Linked DNA regions of Homo sapiens: all the other regions are linked to region 2. Evidence: promoter capture Hi-C in 16 types of primary human blood cells and fetal thymus (Javierre and others, 2016). All regions are on one chromosome and are shown on one strand. The core of a region is centred on a gene start or on the middle of the fragment in contact, and the rest is flanking DNA. Distances in the headings are between cores, read along the strand shown.

Region 1 (3,299 bases), core at 207-2,706, 340 kb before region 2:
CACTTGACTGAACTTAGTGTCTCTTCTTGCTTTTTTTTGTTTTTAGCCATTTATCAATTTATTATCCTGAAATGTCACAATAATTTAAAACTTCTTAAAAAGAGACTTGATCTTTAATAAAGCTCTGCTACTTTGTTATGCAGATATTATATAGAATCTCATTGCTCTTAAATTCATGACCTTGCTTTCTGATATAAACTTAATATGCAGAAGGCTGAATTGGTATTTAATTACTCTCTCGACTTTTAATCAAAGCATCTCTTTATTTCGCCTTTCCTTTAGTGCTGTAAAGCATGAAGTGTACTTTGATGGATTAGGACTGAACGAACAGGACTATAAAAGCCTTCACTGGTTACCCAGCTCCATTGAAGACAAACAAGAAGATGCAAGGAAAACTGATACCTGAAGGCTAGGGTTAGCCCAGTAAATGGATTTCCTGAGAGGAAAATATGCAAAATAACAAAATGACTGTCTTTCTAGAAGTAGCTTTTTAAAAAGCTAAATTTGAATTTGCTGAGATGATTTAATAAAATGCAGCTGGCCAGCAAAAGTAGACTCAGTGTTTTCTTAGAGTTGTACCAGTCCTGTAATTTCTGTATCTTGTTCGGTGACAGGCAAGAGCTATTGACATTCGGATTTCAAAGAGATGAAATGGCCTTGCTTGTAGGTTCTCTTTCCCTGAATGAATAATGTCAGCAGTGTAATTCTGGATAAATAGAAGTCTGATACCAGTTGACAAGCAAGGCAATTTTATTTATGTTTCTGGTCATATGGGTCACATAGTAGGATAGAGAGTCAGTAAGCCTCTCAAAATAGAGTAGGTTTGATTCATAAATAAGAGGATACAGTGGGGAGAAACCAGGGCTCATTGAATAGGTACCACATATGAGGCAACATCCTAGGCTCAAGGAGAACAAATGATGATGAATAAGATTTAGCTCCAGCCTTAAGAAATGTATTTATACTCTAATGGAGGAGACTGGCACAAAAGCTGATGATTTCTATATATATATATATATATATTTTTTTTTTTTTTCCTTGAGATGGAGTTTCATTTGTTGCCCAGGCTGGAGTGCAATGGCTCGATCTTGGCTCACTACAACCTCCGCCTCCCAGGTTCAAGAGCTTCTCTTGCCTCAGCCTCCAGAGTAGCTGGGATTATAGGCATGCACCACCACGCCCAGTTAATTTTGTATTTTTAGAAGAGACAGGGTTTCACCATGTTGGTCAGGCTTGTCTCGAATTCCTGACCTTAGGTGATCTGCCCGCCTCGTCTCCCAAAGTGCTGGGATTACAGGCGTGAGCCACCACTCCTGGCATATGGTAGTGTTTATTAAGCCCTGCACTATTGAGATTGTAGGCTGGATAATTCTTCGTTGTGGAGGCTGTCCTGATCTGTAAGACGTTTGCAGCATCACTGGCCTCTACTCACTAGACATCGGTAGTACCACCTGCACAGTTGATGACCAAACATATCTCCAGATATTGTCACACATCCCATGAGGGGCAAAATTGGTCCAGTTGAGATCTGAGGTGGTAGTGTTGTGACAAAGGTAAGTCTAGGACGCTCTGGGAAGTAAGGAAGGATGCCCAGATGGCCCTAGAGGAAGGTGGGTGGTCAGGGAAGGCTTCCTTGAGGAGGGGGCACTGTTCTTATGTGGAAACATGAAGGGTGTGAGCCATGTGGAGCAAAGGATCAGCATGAACAAAGGAGTGGCATTACAAAATGCCAAGGCATGTGTAGGGGAGCCAGCTGCTACCTCAGTACTTCTGGGATATCAAGTAGGTGTGTTAGAGGTGAACGGTGAGGCGTGAGGTTGTGATGCAAACATGCATGCAACTATGGTCTGCATGGACAGCTTGTGGGCACAGGTGTGTCAGTGGATGGTCCATAAGCAGTGGGTTGATGGGAACAGTCTTCTAGAACATTCTGGCCACAATGGGAAGGATGGATTACTGTGGCTGGTAACATGGCATCAGGACCCTTTTGTGCTGAGCTACTTGCTTTACCTGTGTCATTCCATTTAATCCTCACAATAGGCCTATACAAAGGAGGCACAATTATCCCCACTTACAGAGGAGGGCGTAGCAGGGCCGAGCAGATTCCCTGAGAAGGTGCAGGTGCTGAGGTCTTCTTTTTTTCTTTTTTCTTTTTGCCTTGAGATGGAGTCTTGCTGTGTAGCCAGGCTAGAGTGCACTGGCACGATCTCAGCTCACTGCAACCCCTGGAGAAGGTGCTGAGGTCTTCTCTTAAAGATAAAAGAGGCTTGGCTTGTCTGACAAAACTTTTTTCAGTGAGCTGCTGTGATGGAGGTCAAACCAGGGATCCTGTGGTCAGCCGTGAACAGGATGTATGCAGAGTCCTCTGGAGGGACTTGTAAGCAGATAAATATACAAATAGAGTAACACAGAAGCAATTAAAAACAAGCAGGATATTCAAGGCTCTCTTCATTGTTCTTTTCTCACCTGAAACTTCCATCAGGGCCCAAATGTTTGTTCATTTCAATGAACATTGATTGAGTGCCTACTGTGTCCTCGGGATTATTCCAGGGCTCTGAGGGAGACAAGGGGTTTGAAATAGAATTGGCCTGACAGCAAATGTGAGCTGAATGAACAGAGTGAGAGTAAACAAACTGAGGACAAATGATCTCCAAAGAGGATCTTGACTTTCAGAGGGAAGCATTTCAATTCGGATCTCTCTCTAAGAACCTGCCTCTAAGCGTGTTGCACTCTAGAGAAGCATGTTTGCCCCTTGGAATAGCTGATTGAGGTGTAGTGTGATCAAAAGGAAGGTTATAGGAGAGGAAAGGGACCAGGCTTGCCCTGCTGGTGAAGGTGCTCAGCCCTTGAGCACCCAGAGGTGGCCGTGGAATTGACATTTCCTTGGGATCTTCAGGTATTCTTGCTATGTATGAAACCATGCACTATGTGTTCTCTGTACAGAGTCATTTAATTCCCACAGCAACCTTATATGATGGGTATTATTATTATTATTATTACTATTTTGAGATGGAGTCTTACTCTTGTTGCCAGGCTGGAGGGCAGTGGCACAATCTCGGCTCACTGCAACCTCCGCCTCCTGGGTTTAAGCAATTCTCCTGCCTCAGCCTCCCGAGTAGCTGGGACTACAGGTACATGCCACCATGCCTGGCTAATTTTTAGTAGAGAGGGGGTTTCACCATGTTGACCAGGATGGTCTTGATCTCTTGACCTTGTGATCCACCTGATTCGGCCTCCCAAAGTGCTGGGATTACAAGTGTAGCCACCACGCCCGTCCTATGAATGGGTAGTATTATTAT
Region 2 (3,253 bases), core at 688-3,187:
CTTATAGTTAAATCCTAACCTCCAGGTCTGTTTCTGAGGGAGCCCAGCCTAAGACAACCTCCAGTACTTAGCACAGTGCCTGACATATGGTATTGACTCAGTAGATATTTGCTGAAAGAATAAAATACTTTGCAAATGAAATCCTACCCTAATATTAACTTCACCTAATTTAAAGAAGTTACTCTGAAGCAAAGTGATTAGATCAACTTTTGTCTCCCTAGCTTCCACCTCTGTCCTCCCACTAGCAGAAAAACTCCATTGGAAAGCCTATTACTAATTTTTTTTAAAGCAAATTTGAACTGCAGTATAGAACACAAGTACATCAAAATGGAAAGCCCAGGTTGCAGATTTGACCATCCTCACTTGCTGATCTTGAAGACATTGCTTCCTTTCTGAGATTTCAATGTTCATTTCACAATTAAAGATAAGGTTCCATAAGCACATAGTTGGGAGAAGTGGCAGGACAATGTAAGCTCATATTAACAAGCAAATGATTAATATAGAGACTTCTAAAGAGCAGGTCTGGTAAGTATCTAGTAAGTGGACTTCCTGAAGTAAGAGGAGTGTTGGTTGCCACACTAAAGGCAAGTCTTCTAGTCCCCAAATTTGCCTTGGGAGGATGACAGCTGTATCTTTCTTGGTTCTGGTGTACAGTGGAGAACAGGGTCAAGATGAGTGTGGAATCCATTTATTTTTTTACGTGTTTATAAGCACTAGAAAGCAGTGAGCACTAAGCAGAGGACCCCTCTTGCGGAAAAAGTGCAGGAGAGCTCCTGGGTGCCTCTGTATCACCGGTTTGCCTTCTAGCCAGAATCATTGCTAGAACCCTGTCACTCAGTTACTTTGGTTCCTAATTTAACCTCTTCCCAAGCCTTCTATTGCGTTCAGTTAGCTAGGCCAGGAGCTTACAGCTGTCTGGTTGGTGCTGGCTCAATGTGCTTATTCCCTGGAAGATAGAAGGATCACTTACAAAAAAATTTACAATTAAAATAAAAAAATTATTTTTTGCTGAAGCATTGTAAGGTTTTTTTAATTCACTCAGACCCAAAATCGTAAAACTAAAATATTTCAAGACATTACTTGATTCACCCCCCACTTCTCTTTCTCCCCTGTTTCTCAGCACTTTGCACCAGATACAGAAACCACGGGTTATGTCCAAACCCTGGTTTTGGTGTGACCACCGCCTTCCGTGTACTGCCTGCGGCTCGCTTCGGGCCCACACGGGACACCGAGGCATGATGAGGACGCAGAACAGCAGAAGCGCGCCCTGCTTCCCGGGCGCCAGTGCTCGGGGCCAGCGGCGTGTACCCGGCGGGCCCGGCCGGGAGCGGGCTGGCGATCGCGGGGCTCGGCGCTCCCGGCTCCCGCGCCATCTCCCGGCGCCCGCCAACTTCGCTCCGCCCGCGGCGTAGAGAAGCTCGCAGCCCTCCGGAGCCTCAGCGATCTCCTGGCTCGCTTTTCCCGCAGCCGCCGAGCAGCGCAGGCCCGGCGACTCCGGGTGCAGCTGGCCCTGTGCGGTGACATCGCCGTCCGGCGCCAGGCTCGAAGCCGCCTGGCCGCGCCCGCGGGGTCGCAGGCCGCTGGTCCCGCCCGGCCGCGCTCACAAACTACTCGCGGCTCGTGACCCGGGACAAACTTCTGGCGGCGGCGCAGCCTCTTCCACAGTCACCCTCCCCAGAGCCAGCTACCAAAATAGAAGACGCGGCCGGGGCGAGGAGGTGGGCGGGGGGAGCCCGGTGGCCGCTCCTCCCCGCGCGGCTGACGCCCGCTTCGGCGGCGGTAGTGGCTGTGGCCGCGGGGCCGCCCCCAGCCGAGCTCCCGGAGGCGCTCGGGCGCGGGCCGGCGGGGCACGGGCGCTCACGCCCTCTAGCGGGCCGCGGCGGCGCCGGGCGGCCGTGACGTGAGCGCTCCCTTCAGCCGGCCTGCGGGGCACCGCCAGTCAGTCGGGGAGCAAGAGCCCCGCGCGCAGCCGGCGCGGGCTCGGTCATCGGCGCGCCGCCGCCCGGGGCTGGGCTTGGGGCTGCCTGTGGAGAGGCGGCGGGCGGAACGCGCGCGGCCACGGCCACGGCCACCGCCACGGCCACGGCCGGCAGCTCGGGTCCCGGGTCCCGGGCAGGGGAAGGGGAGAGGCGGCGAGCTCAGCAACCGGAACCGAGGGAAGATTTTGGCTCCGCGGGCTCGCCCTCCGCTCCCTCTGCCAGCGGCGCCAGACGCCGAGTGGGGCCAGGGACAGGGGAGGAGGACCCAGGACCCTGTGCCCGCGCCCCTGGAGCCGCTGGAGTTCGGACTTCTGCAACTGTTGGCACTTTGGGGGCTTGGCTTAGCGCTCTGCTGTTTACCCGTCTCTCCTCGCTGCCTCGGAACCAAAGCTCCCGGCCCCCTCCGCCCTCGCGCGCCCACCCACCGCCGCCGGGGAGCGGCCCGGCCCGCACTCAGCACCATGAGGGGACTTGGGACTTGCCTGGCGACTTTGGCCGGACTTTTGCTAACTGCGGCGGGCGAGACGTTCTCAGGTAAGCGGGACCGCCTCTGCCGCCCCCGAGGCGCGCGGGCCGGCGCGGGACGCCCGGGACGCCGACAGCTCCCTGGTGGTAGAGCCCTAAGGCTGGCGTCGGGGCCGGGCGGGGGGCGCGGCGGGCCGGACACCGCTTCTGCCTGTGAGCCGGGCGCTGGGCGAGGGGCCGTGGGGCTGGCAGGCACCCAGTCCTCGGGCGGGCGGAGCGGACGGACCCCGAGGGCGAGCTCCCCAGCCGGGACTGCCAGCTCGGCCGCCGTCCTTCCGCGGCCTGGGCTAGTGCTCAAGGTTGGGCGGCTTGCACTCTTGAGTCCCTGGCCGGCTGCAAAAGGAACAGCAGAAAACTTTGCTTGAAGTTCCCAGTTGCAGCCGCCGGGCCGCCTGGCGTAGGCGCTGCGCGGTCCCCGCCGACCCCGAGCAGCGGCCGGGCCCAGGCCGCTGGTGTTCGGCTGCGCCCGCAGCGATCGCCGGGAACTGGCGGCCGCTCCGGCGGCGGCGATCTCCCGGTGCCCTGCCCTCCCTGTCGCCCCCTGCCCGGCGCGGCTGGCGACCCCGGGAGGTCCCCGCGGTCGTGCAGCGTCTGCGGAGAGGCTGGGGGGAGTTCCTCGCCGGTCCCAGCGGTAGGGCTTGGCGGCCGCGGAGGGAAGCGGGCAGGTCCCCAGGCCCTGGCCACGGCCCTGCGCCCCGCTGGGCTCCCCCTCCCCACCCTCGTCCCCCTAGCGGAGCGCCGCGGCCAGC
Region 3 (3,357 bases), core at 597-3,096, 290 kb before region 2:
TGTCCTCCAGGTGATTACAGTCTAGTTGATGAATTATTCCCAGAGTGTTCATAACAATAAAATTAGGCAAAGTGGATTATATGCCCTGTGAGTGAAATACATATTATTGTCCTCTGTAATTTAGAAGAAAAATAAATTGTGGCAAGGCTTTTTGGAGGTGTCATTTGGTCCTGGCCTTGAAATGTGGACAGAATTCCATCAATGGGGATGCGGAGGGGTGGCGGGGACGGGAAGTGCACAGAAGAAGCAGAGGTGAATATGAAAGAAGCAGAAAGTTGCCGGGCGCGGCGGCTCACGCCTGTAATCCCAGCACTTTGGGAGGCCGAGGCGGGCGGATCACGAGGTCAGGAGATCGAGACCATCCTGGCTAATACAGTGAAACCCCGTCTCTACTAAAAATACAAAAAATTAGCCGGGTGTGGTGGTGGGTGCCTGTAGTCACAGCTACTCGGGAGGCTGAGGCAGGAGAATGGCGTAAACCCAGGAGGCGGAGCTTGCAGTGAGCTGAGATCACACCACTGCACTCCAGCCTGGGTGACAGAGTGAGACTCCGTCTCAAAAAATAAAAAAATAGATAAAATAAAATAAAGAAGCAGAAAGTTCAGGTAGGATGTTAAAGAATCTGATTCTGGAAAGGACAATGGTAGCAAAATTGTGGGCACCTTAAATGTCAGGATGAAGCACTTCAAACTTATGCAGGTAAGAAGGGTGCCATTGGAACTTTTTGAGAAGGGGAATCACATGGTTAACATGGCAACTTGGGAAAATTATTCTTGTCCTTGGTCATGCAGAAGGACATTGTCATTGGAAGGGAAGGAACTGGGAGCATAACAAATGGCTAGTCAGCTAATTAGGTGTACTAGAGGGCTAGGGCTGCCCTAACAAAGTACCACAGACTGAGTGGCTTAAATGACAGAAATTTACTATTGCACAGTTTTAGAGGCTGGAAGTCTGAGGTCAAGGCGTTGGCAGGATTGGTGTCTTCTGAGGCCTCTCTCCTTGGCTTGTAGACGGCCGCCTTCTTACTGTGTCCTCACATGGTCTTCTCTCTGTGCATGTCTGTGTCCTAATCTCCTCTTTTTATAAGGACATCAGTTATACCTGTTGGGGGCTGGCCTGTATGACCTCATTTTACCTTAATTATCTCTTTAAAGACCTGTCTCCAAATATAGTCACATTCTGAAATACTGGGGTTAGGATTTCAACATATGAATTTGGGGGAGACACAATTTAGCCCATAACAGAGGTAATAAAGGCTTGTATTAGGATGGTTTTCTGGGGCATGAAGAAGAAATCAATCTAAAGGAACAAAAGTGGGCTGACAACTCTTGGGGAGAGACTGGATATATGGGGAAGGGAGAAGGATTCTTGGTGAGGCTGCAGGTAGAGACTGCTTTTTTCTAAACAGCAAGGAAAGAAAAGGAAGGAAGCAAAAGGGTAAGGCTAGTGGCCACAGATAAAAGCTTTGTTTGTTAGTATAGGGCAGAGGTCAACACATTGTAGACAAAGAGGAAGGAGGCAGGAGACAAGACAAAAAGATGACCTAAGGAAGGATACAGGAGGGATTAACACGGGCAAACTTATTAGCTTTAGGTGGGAGTAGGGGGTGATCTTTCCATTCAGTTAAGATGAGAGAAAAAGGAAAGAGTGCAGATGATTGTGAGGATACATCAAAATGTAGAAGATGGAAAATAAAGGAACTCAACATGGTGGTCCCAATTTTTTTGGTAAAGCACAAGGCAAGATATGGTGGAGGCATCTGGATTCATTCATAAGATTGAGTTTTAAGTTTGTGAGTCAGGAAAGCCCGTTAGATCCCTTTTCTGCTGTGAGACCCTTTGTACTACATGTGAGCTTCCATGACCTGCTTGCTGCTCTCTGGAACAGGGACCTACTTATCCTGAGCACAAATGAGATAATGCATGTAAAAGCACTTTACAAACTGTAAAGAACCCTAAAACCATTGGCTATTATTATTATTTTATTGCTTTATCATGTGAGTGTGAAGATTACCCACAGCTAAAGCAGACCCTTCAGATCATTCTGGATCCAAATGGATCTCAACCTTCAGAGGTTCTAGGGCCCCTTCCTTGGACAAGATTGGACTGAAAAAGACCTAATCTCTATATATGTCAAGACCAGGCTGTGCAGATCTCTTCCCAAGACCTGGGCCAGCGCTTGCTTCCTGCTGTTGGAGCCTGAACCTGGTACTTTCATAACACAATGCACTAAAGCTTCTCACCAAAGCCTCCAAAGTAATTTTAAGCCCACGCAGTGAGAGGGGATGTGAAGCTAGCTGCCAGCACTTCATAAATTACTTCAGTTTCTTGCATTTTTAAATCAGAGTGTCATATTCCCTTCAATTCTAATATATCACTTCAGGACACAATGTCATTTTAAATTTTTGAAATATTGTAAAAAATATTCTTCACTTCTTTGGTACATATCAATGACTCTTATTACTCAAAAATTACCACTGTTACTCTCCAATTGATGAACAGGTTGGTTTCCAAAAGTTTATTTGAAGTCAACTGTTTTTCCCAAGAGGAAAATGTTCTACTGTAAAAATGATATACATGGCTGGGCACGGTGGCTCACGCCTGTAATCCCAGCACTTTGGGAGGCCGAGGGCGGGCGGATCATGAAGTCAGGAGATCAAGACCATCCTGGCTACTACGGTGAAACTCAGTCTCTACTAAAAATACAAAAAATTAGCCAGGTATGGTGACAGGTGCCTGTAATCCCAGCTACTCAGGAAGCTGAGGCAGGGGAATCGCTTGAACCCAGGAGGCGGAGGTTGCATTGAGTCAAGATCGTGCCACTGCGCCACTGCACTCCAGCCTGTGTGACAGAGCAAGACTCAAAAAAAAAAAAATAGATATACACGTTGGTTAGGCTTCCAGATCAACCTGCAAAATTTCATGTCACCTAAAATAGGATGGGACATCACAGCCTTACCCTATACTGTCCAGAGCTAATTTTCCTTCCACTGGGTTTCTCAGAAGCAGAGAGGAGATTCTTTCTCAGACATACCAATCTCATTGTCCCCACATTGGGTCATATGTCCATTTTTAAACACTTTCTCTAGGATGGGATGTGCTCATTGACTTAAGCCAATCAGGAAATGGGGAAGGTATACACTCTCCCTGAAGCTCCTGGACTGTATAGGAAATGGTCAATGCCTGAATGAAAAAGAAAAAGCAAGAGAGGATAAATGCTGGACAGCCAATGCAGCAATCTCGTTTGCCACACCTGTGCTAGAGAAAGAAGCAAGAGGGAGATGTGTTTTCTCTCCTTTTTCTTGCTTAAGGCCAGCTTGAAAACCTCCAATTTCCCCATCCTTCCTCTTTGCAACAC
Region 4 (3,035 bases), core at 213-2,712, 300 kb before region 2:
TTTATTGATTAGATAGTTAAAACTTTCAATGTTATCTTGAAGTTATCCAGTGATTCAGTGATATTTTATGTTGGAGGAAGGAAAATGTCAGAGGGTTTCTAATTTATTTTTTATTTTATTTTGTTATTATTATTATTTTTTAAATTTAGAGACAAGAGTCTCACTCTGTCACTCAGGATGGAACGTGGTGGCATGATCATAGCTCACTGTAACTTCTAACTCCTGGGCTCAAGCAATCCTCCTGCCTCAGCCTCCCAAGTAGCTTGGACTAAAGGTGTGTGCCACCACACCCAGGTAATTTTTAAGTTTTTTGTAGAGACGGGGTCTCACCAGATTGCCCAAGCTGGCCTCGAACTTCTGGGGTCAAGCAATCCTCCCACCTCTGCCTACCAAAGTGCTGGGATTACAGGCATGAGCAACCGCACCTGGCCTAAGGTTTCTAATTTTGTTTTGTTTTGTTTTTGAAATGGAGTCTTGCCCTGTCACCCAGGCTGGAGTGCAATGTTGCAATCTCGGCTCACTGCAACCTCCGCCTCCCGGATTCAAGTGATTCTCCTGCCTCAGCCGCCCGAGTAGCTGGGAATACAGGCATGTGCCACCATGCCTGGCTAATTTTTTATATCTTTAGTAGAGACGGGGTTTCACCATGTTGGCCAGGCTGGTCTCAAACTCCTGACCTCATGATCTGCCCACCTCAGCCTCCCAAAGTGCTGGGACTACAGGCATGAGCCATGGCACCCAGCCTTTTTTTTTTTTTTTTGAGATGGAGTCTAGCTCTGTTGCCCAGGCTAGAGTGCAGTGGTGTAATCTTGGCTTGCTGCAACCTCTGCCTCTGGGTTCAAGAGATTCTCCTGTCTCAGCCTCCCAAGTAGCTGGGACTACAGGCATGTGCCACCATGCCCTGCTATTTTTTTTTATAGTTTTAGTAGAGATAGGGTTTCACCATTTTGGCCAGGCTGGTCTCGAACTCCTGACCTCCAGTGATCCGCCCTCCTTGGCCTCCAAAGTGCTGTGATTACAAACATGAGCCACTGCGCCTGGCCTAAGATTTCTAATTTAAAAGGTCACCTGGCTAGCAGCTCCTGATTCAGTCTCCCTCAATGCCCATTTATAAGAAAAGAATATATTTGGAACTCTTAAAACTAGGACTGACAGCCAATCTCTTACCAGAGTTTGGGAAGACCTTCCACAAGCTGTAGAGCTAATGTCACTCAGTGGACAATGCAGGTCTGGCCTCAGGAATGGGTCAACTGGCTTCCATCCCTCTCCATGCTCCACACCGGGTCAGAGCCTCATCAACTGTAAAACCAGAACATGTCATGCCTCGACTCTCTAGGTGCTACTTTTTGACACAGTCAGATTCGTCCTCCCCAGATAGCTACTTCTGCTGTTAGATTGAGCTAGATAATTCTGGAGCTTCTGGAGGAGGCTCGTTCTGGGTAGTGTAGTGGCCCAAATAAAGCACCATGAATGGGGACAGAGTCCGGAAGAGCCTTGGCGTCTAGGCAGCTGCAAGGTTGTTATTTCTCAGATCCTCAAATTTTACAAAGGGTCAGAAGGTCAGACAGCAAAGACAGGAAAAGCTCCCTTCATAGATTAGCAAAGACATTCCAGCAGTAGGCTTCCTAGTGACAGAAAAGTTGTGTGTGTCCCCCAGCTCTTCCTGGGACAGCCACTTGGGAAGGGTGGGGGTGGGGACACACAGTGTGCTTGTTCTCTTGTGCTGGGTAGAGCTCTGCCTTCTTGGACAAGGAAACAAGAAAAAGGAGTAGTCTTTGAAAAAATCATATGGTCCTGATAAAGTCAGCCTCGTGCTAAAATTTCACTGGAAACAATGTTTTTCTAAAAAAAAAAAAAAAAAAAACCTAAAACACATTTTAGGAAACAATGATCATCCTTAGATAAAAAATCAAATTGCCTTTTTGAAATGGAACAAAATGTCAAAGGGAGAATAGACTGATATGGAAGCAGCCCAGATAAAGAAAATCGAGATAAGTAAAATAAGAAAGTATTAAAGGAAACGAGAAATTCAATGCTGAATTAATCCATGTGGGGATGGTAAATCAGAAATGACACCTTGGAAAATCTGATCCTTAGTGAGGGAGACAAACCTGAGACTCTCTCTGAGAATGGAGAGGAAAGGAAATCACGTGGAAATGGTGGGATGGACAGAAAAAAAGAAAATACAGCATTGGGGTGAAAGGGCATGAGATTCAGTGTCTCACGCAGACTTGAAGCTCAACCCCAGCACTTACAACATGTGCGGACCTGGGCAAGGCTTCCATCTGCAGTGCAGGGATAACAATATCTCCTCAGAGTACCACAGTTGGGACAGCAACAAATATATATGGGAATTCAGCATGACATATGGCATCTGGTGAACAGTGAACACGCATAAAAGGAGGAACAGAGACAGAAAGAAGTTAGGGCTGTTCCCCAGGAAGAAAGTCAAGTAGAACAGATGGATGGAATGGTCACCAAAGACATCATGGTGGGAGGGTGAGGGTGAGGTGGATATGGGGGTGGTTGGGCCTTTCCTGAGCCTAGGCTGAAAAAACGACCTGAGTGCAATTAGAAGGAGGTTACCAGGATGAGACATCAATGACACGAGAAGTGGTTATATTTTTGAATTCTGAGGATCAAGAAAACAAGACCCAGGCCGGGCGCGGTGGCTCACGCCTGTAATCCCAGCCCTTTGGGAGGCCAAGGCAGGCGGATCACGAGGTCAGGAGATCGAGACCATCCTGGCTAACATGGTGAAACCCCGTATCTACTAAAAATACAAAAAATTAGCACGGCGTAGTGGTGGGCGCCTGTAGTCCCAGCTACTCGGGAGGCTGAGGCAGGAGAATGGCTTGAACCCAAGAGGCGGAACTTGCAGTGAGCGGAGATCGCGCCACTGCACTCCAGCCTGGGGGACAGAGAGAGACTCCGTCTCAAAAAAAAAAAAGAAAAGAAAACTCAAAACCCAACAAGCATTCAGGCAGCAAAAATAGGTTACCTACAGAAGTTCAGAAATTAGGACGGCCTCGGGG

Evidence for each region. Contacts are between HindIII fragments. The CHiCAGO score rates a contact against its expected background, and 5 or more counts as called.
Region 1: a contact is called between a fragment that was not itself captured here and the fragment with the promoter of PTPRM in region 2, in 1 of 17 cell types (monocytes). The highest score is 6.1, in monocytes.
Region 3: a fragment that was not itself captured here is called in contact with the fragment with the promoter of PTPRM in region 2 in 6 of 17 cell types (endothelial precursors, M2 macrophages, M0 macrophages and 3 more); the score reaches 12.1 in endothelial precursors.
Region 4: a fragment that was not itself captured here is called in contact with the fragment with the promoter of PTPRM in region 2 in 6 of 17 cell types (endothelial precursors, megakaryocytes, M2 macrophages and 3 more); the score reaches 8.6 in endothelial precursors.

Annotation. Positions count from the first base shown.
Region 1 is chr18:7,222,316-7,225,614 of GRCh38, forward strand. No RefSeq gene overlaps it. Among named protein-coding and RNA genes, the nearest start is that of LRRC30, 7.1 kb to the right of the region's middle. The HindIII fragment of the contact is 5,629 bases long and covers 1-3,299 here.
Region 2 is chr18:7,565,379-7,568,631 of GRCh38, forward strand. It overlaps PTPRM (protein tyrosine phosphatase receptor type M), which reads left to right and starts at 1,938. Exons shown (of 33, transcript NM_001105244.2): 1 at 1,938-2,513. The coding sequence starts at 2,441. RefSeq lists a silencer at 1,619-1,988. The HindIII fragment of the contact is 6,488 bases long and covers 1-3,253 here.
Region 3 is chr18:7,279,546-7,282,902 of GRCh38, forward strand. No RefSeq gene overlaps it. Among named protein-coding and RNA genes, the nearest start is that of LRRC30, 50 kb to the left of the region's middle. The HindIII fragment of the contact is 771 bases long and covers 1,462-2,232 here.
Region 4 is chr18:7,262,245-7,265,279 of GRCh38, forward strand. It overlaps LOC105371973 (a long non-coding RNA gene), which reads right to left. Exons shown (of 4, transcript XR_935118.2): 2 at 1,168-1,299. Among named protein-coding and RNA genes, the nearest start is that of LRRC30, 33 kb to the left of the region's middle. The HindIII fragment of the contact is 8,400 bases long and covers 1-3,035 here.